Linked DNA regions of Homo sapiens: region 2 is linked to region 1. Evidence: promoter capture Hi-C in 16 types of primary human blood cells and fetal thymus (Javierre and others, 2016). All regions are on one chromosome and are shown on one strand. The core of a region is centred on a gene start or on the middle of the fragment in contact, and the rest is flanking DNA. Distances in the headings are between cores, read along the strand shown.

Region 1 (2,700 bases), core at 158-2,657:
TAACTGAATGGTAGCCCGCCTACTTAGCTTGAGTGTTTCAAGGACTCCTCCTGGTCAAGAGCTGGGTTTCCCTATTCATTTCATTTAAACAAGCTCCCAAGAAGGCAACAGGGACCCACTGTACCCCAAGAGGCACTCCAAGTTTCCTTCAGAGAGGAAAAAGAGAGACGGGGCTCCTAGAACCCACTCTCCCCAAAGGCGAGTTTCCCAGGTAAGTTCATTTCGGGCCCGAGACTGATGGAGCCACCCTCCCACCAGAAGGGCGGCGTGGAGGACCGGAGACCGAAAGTCGGGCCTCTGGGAGAAGCAGCTGGCGCCCAGGGGCTCCGCCGCCCGCACCCCACTCTCGCCCGCTGGGGACGCCCTTCCCTCCCCAAGGCGTGGACGCCCCGCTCCGCTTCTCTCTACGCAGGCCCGCGCGGCCGCTACCTGCAGCACTTGGCCAGGCTCTCCCGCAGCGTCTTGCGCTCCTGCAGGCGCCGCTCGTGCTGTTGCTGGAAAGCGAGCTCGCTGTAGACCGGCCGCGACACCATGTAGCTGCAGCTGTACTCGGGGAGCTGCGGCGGCTCCGACCTGCCGCCTGGCGCTGCCATGACCTGCGAGCCAGAGGACAGCGAGGAGGGAGGACACGCGGTAAGCGAGGACGATCGGAGGGGAAGAGCGAGGAACAGAAAGAACGGGATCACCTGTTAGCTGCAGCCAGGCCCCCCTGCACCGCGAGTCTGGTCCGCGTCCTGCAGCCCTCGGCGCTCGCGACAAGCGCCCCACGGCGCGCACGGCCAGCCTGCAGGGGGGCACCTGAGAACCTTCGGGTCTCGTGGCCTGCACCCGCTGCCCGGGGTTCCCCAAACTTGAAGCGAGTAAGCCCCTGCTCTGGGGGCTTCCCGAGTTCCACCCAGTCCCCTATGGCCCGCAGCCAGGGCGCTGTCCGCGTTCTGAAATCTCCCCCAAACCGAGGGGCTGGGGCAGGGGCCAAAGGCGCTTGCAAGGCTGGAAGGGGACACTGAGATTCCCTCCCTCCCCGCACCTGACCCGGGACGCAGCTCCAGGTGCGCACTGGAGGAGAGGTGCAGACCCCCGGGCCAGGCGTGGAACCGTCAGGGCGCGCTCCGCGGGTCCCCAAGAGGCGGACGCTGCAGGCACATTCCAGCAGCTGTCGCAGCCCTCTCGGGGGCAGAACTTTCAGCTTATTGAGCAAGTCTCTCCCCTCGTCCTGTTTTCCGAGCAGCCTGTTCGCTCTCGGCGTCTCAGAAAGAAAGCTGTACTGCCCCCTGCCCACCTGATCCGTGACCACTTAAGAGTCCCATCCGCAACCCTCGAGGCCTCCCCGGGAGTGGAGCCCGGGCCGGGCGGTGTGGGCATCTTCAGGGCGAACTCACCTGTCTCTGCTCGCGCCCCGCCCGGAATGCCCCGCGGACTACCCTTCCGCTGCCTTTATAGCGCTCTCAGAAGGCAGTGGGACGTTTTATTTACGGAGCAACAGACACCTTGGTCGAAGGGAAAGACACACACAGGCTGCGGTCTTTCCCAACCGATCCTATCAGGAAAGAAATCCTACCCCTCCTGCATTCTTCCCCTTTCCCGAACCGGGAAGGCTGAGACTCTTACTGGCTGCCACGCAGGGGCCACCCGGATCCTCACTCATCCCGTTACTAATCTCAAGGGTTGCGAGGTCAGGGGCGGGCCAGGCCCTGTGGGACTCCTTAAAGAAGAGCAGAGCCCGCCTAGAGGAAGAGGTCCGTGGTCTCTGGGAGCCTGCCACAGGTGCTCTCATACCACATGGGGAGGAGAAGAGGAACAATGGCCAGGTTTCTATATTAATAAGTCCTTGAATTTCTAGAAAGTCTTTTAGGAGTATTCAATGGGTGGAGGATACAGAGAGTTCACGATTTACTCAGATTTTAGCCACTTATTCTACGTGTGCATGTGTGTGTGTTTTATTTCACAATCCAAATCAAGCCGTCCAGGTGGCCCTTTCTTACCCACTAGACTCTGTTTTTTCTTTTTCTCATTCTCCTGGACAATCAGGGAAGGAATAAACTGGACTACATGGAAATCAAGACTAGAAGAGAGGGAGGAGGAGCTGGAGCTATCCTACCTCATCAGTGTTTTGTCTTCTGTTGGGATGAACTTTGTTAAAACTAATGCATGGTTAAGATGAAAGGCAGAAGGAAGGGTTTGATAAACCAGAACATTCTCGCCTGATTGTTAGTGTTCTGAAGTAAATACAGAAGAGGCTCCAAAATACAGACCTCTGTACATCAACCTTCCGTAATCCACCTGCCTTGCATATGCAGACCATGACAATTCTACGAGCTCCTGGAAACAGAACTCAGAACTCCTCCCCAGAGAACCCTGATGCAAATTCTCTGAAATGGTAGTCAGCATGTGCGTTTTCCTGAGAAGTGAATGAGTCAACAGCTTTCAACAGATCTTCAAAGGCTTACTTCACCCAATGAAGTTAAGAACCACTAAAGAAGAAACCTAAAAGGAAAATCCAGGTCATGAACTTTGCAATTTTTATTCACATACAGAGAAGAGGGGAGGAATCTCTTGTGTATGTTTTACTTATGTATACCACTGGTTCTTAATAAAGGGCTTTTTTTGCCTCCAGAGGTCAATGCCTGGAGACATTTTTGGTTGTCACACCTAGGGAGATGCTATTGGGATCTAGTGAGTAGAGACCAGAGATGCTGCTAA
Region 2 (2,700 bases), core at 104-2,603, 89 kb after region 1:
TTTCTTCTTTATAGTGGGATATTCCGCTGTACGGATGGACCATATAGTGTATTTTTAGACTGTTTCACATGCTCTGAGTATATTCATAGGGTAAATTCTTAGGAGAATTGTTAATAGGCATTTAACATACAACACTGTGATAGATATTACAGAATTATCTTTCAAGAGTTTACCAATATAGACATATACCAATATGGATAAAAGTTCTTGTTTCCTCACAACTTATCATACAGTGTATATCCAACATTTGAATATTCTAATTTGTGAGCTCTCTTCATATTCTTTGCATTTTTCTGTATATAATTTTTCCATTAGTTGTTCTTTTTATTTGTAATTTTTTTAATAAAACAAAGAAATTAGTATTGCTATCTATCATGTGTTATAAATATTCTCCTCAGTTTTTTGTCTTTGAGTATATTTGTGCTCTTACATATAAATGTTTAATTTTTTTTTTTTTTTGAGACAGAGTCTGTCACCCAGGCTGGAGTGCAGTGGCACAATCTCAGCTCACTGCAACCTCTGCGTCCCAGGTTCAAGTGATTCTCCGGCTCAGTCTCCCAAGTAGCTAGGATTACAGGCACCTGCCACCATGGCCAGCCAATTTTTGCATTTTTAGTAGAGATAGGGTTTCACCATGTTGGTCAGGCTGGTCTCAAACTCCTGACCTCAGGTGATCCACCCACCTTGGCCTCCCAAAGCGCTAAGATTACAGGCATGAGCCACCGCCTCTGGCCCAAAGTTTTAATTTTAATACAGCCGAATGTATTAAAGCTTCCTAGGTTTTAAAGAACATATTTTTCGTATCCTTGGGTCAGTGTTATAAACTCTGTTTAGATGTATTTCAACATTTCTTTTGAGGAATACTTGTATGAGATTCACTGGGTGTTTATGAAAATGCAGATTTGTGGGCATCATCCTAGTTGCACTGATTCAAGATTCCTATGGCAATCTACTGATTTACAGGATTATGATGGTTTAGGAGAATTTGCTTTATTCTTTATGGAGATGTAAGGTGCTTTCCCTTTTGTAACTCAAGAGAGTTACAGAATTTCAATTTAACAACCATTTATTGGTCTAATATATTTCCAACACTGTACTAGATGCTGAGGATACAAATCAAGCTATTTCTAAAGCTACAGCCCTCAAGGAGGCCGAACCTAATGGGAGAAACAGGCATATAAAGAGGAAATCATAATGCAGTAGAATTAAGTGATTAAGTGCAACATAAGAGCCTGTGCTTAGCAGGGAGGACATGAGTAGAGGATGATCAAAAAAAAAAAAAAAGATTCATGGCTACAAATATTGAGAGCTGAATGACGAAACATAAACTACAGTTTGCAAGAGAGAGAGGGGGTCTGGTGTGAGAAGACAGTGTATGTTCAAGGACTTAAAATAACTTAGGAATTTTGAAGGATAAAGTCAGTGGGGTGTGGGGAGAAACTGAAGGAAGATAAGGCTGCAGAAGATGTATTCAGAGGTCAGATTATGAAAAACTGTGTATTATCTTTAGGTGCTGAAATTTTAGTCTTTAAGCCAGTAGTTCTCAACCTTTAACAAGCTCAGAATTACCTGGAGAGCTTTTAAAACACAGATTGCTGGACCACATATGTGGAATTTCTGATTTAGTACACCTGTAAATCTCCATTTCTAACAAGTTTCCAGATAATACTGATGCTGCTGGTCTGGGGATCACACTTTGAGAACAATGAGAGAAAAATTTACATGTTCAATAGGTCACTTTGGTCTCCTTGGAGGATAGTTTGGAATGGTACAAGACTAGAGGCAGTGTGACAGGAATCTACTCTAGTAGCCCTAGTGAGAGGAGAGGGTTTCAAAGTGACCTTACACTTTGGTATATACACTGATAGTTTGCAAGGCATTCAGTAATAACATGTAAAAAATACTTATTAAAAACACTAAAGAACTAAAGCTTCTTCACATAAAATCTCTAAATTGTGTTGTTTCTGATAAGATAGTTGAGTTTGTAAACAAATTTAAAAAGTTTTACAAAGTCAGTACACTCGGTTTCACATACCTTGATTTGTGGTAAATTCGCTGTCTCTGGCTTTTATAGATTTGACAAAATCAGCGGCAACAATCATTGGTGTGTAACACAGATCACAACTATATTTTCTTACTAGTGTCCTAAAAGCCAACCTGTGAGCATATAAAACCTTAATTATGCATTTAGAAACACCACAAACATATTTTAGTGCATTGTTAAATATTTATCAGAGAAAGTTCTACCTATGGGGAGATGGAGGAGATTTACTTTTCCCTATTATTCCTGTTAAGTATTACTAAAAACCTTGGATATTATATATAAAACAAACACAAGAAAATTTTGAAAGGTGAAGAAAAGATGTCCAGATAGGCTAGTGACCTCAGGACCTGAGGAATGACAGGGTGGTGAGTTCTCTGGGTTTTATTTTTGTCTCAAATATCCTAGACTTGAAGAAGCTGGCCACCTGGAAACAACAATGGATGCAGACAAAACCAGCCCCAACAAAAGCCTTCTCTAACCAAAGGACCAGGAAAATGTTCTGTCTGACCTAGTAAGACAGAAAACTTTTAGACAGTTCTACTCCAGCCAAATACTGTAGAAAAAGCTATGGCTTTATCTCCATTAGCAAAGGCCAAGTGGGAATCCTAGACTTCTACCCTCCAAAGGCTGTAACAAGGTGCTCCAACATTCTATTG

What was found. Contacts are between HindIII fragments. The CHiCAGO score rates a contact against its expected background, and 5 or more counts as called.
Region 2: a contact is called between a fragment that was not itself captured here and the fragment with the promoter of SLC26A4 in region 1, in 1 of 17 cell types (naive B cells). The highest score is 5.3, in naive B cells.

What each region holds. Positions count from the first base shown.
Region 1 is chr7:107,659,535-107,662,234 of GRCh38, reverse strand. It overlaps SLC26A4 (solute carrier family 26 member 4), which reads right to left and starts at 1,407. Exons shown (of 21, transcript NM_000441.2): 1 at 1,380-1,407; 2 at 430-596. The coding sequence starts at 593. SLC26A4-AS1 (SLC26A4 antisense RNA 1) reads left to right here and starts at 437. Exons shown (of 2, transcript NR_028137.1): 1 at 437-633; 2 at 2,029-2,700. The HindIII fragment of the contact is 14,838 bases long and covers 1-2,700 here.
Region 2 is chr7:107,570,602-107,573,301 of GRCh38, reverse strand. It overlaps DUS4L-BCAP29 (DUS4L-BCAP29 readthrough), which reads right to left. Exons shown (of 13, transcript NR_163941.2): 4 at 2,036-2,157. It overlaps DUS4L (dihydrouridine synthase 4 like), which reads right to left. Exons shown (of 8, transcript NM_181581.3): 4 at 2,036-2,157. Among named protein-coding and RNA genes, the nearest start is that of DUS4L-BCAP29, 8.0 kb to the right of the region's middle. The HindIII fragment of the contact is 1,159 bases long and covers 774-1,932 here.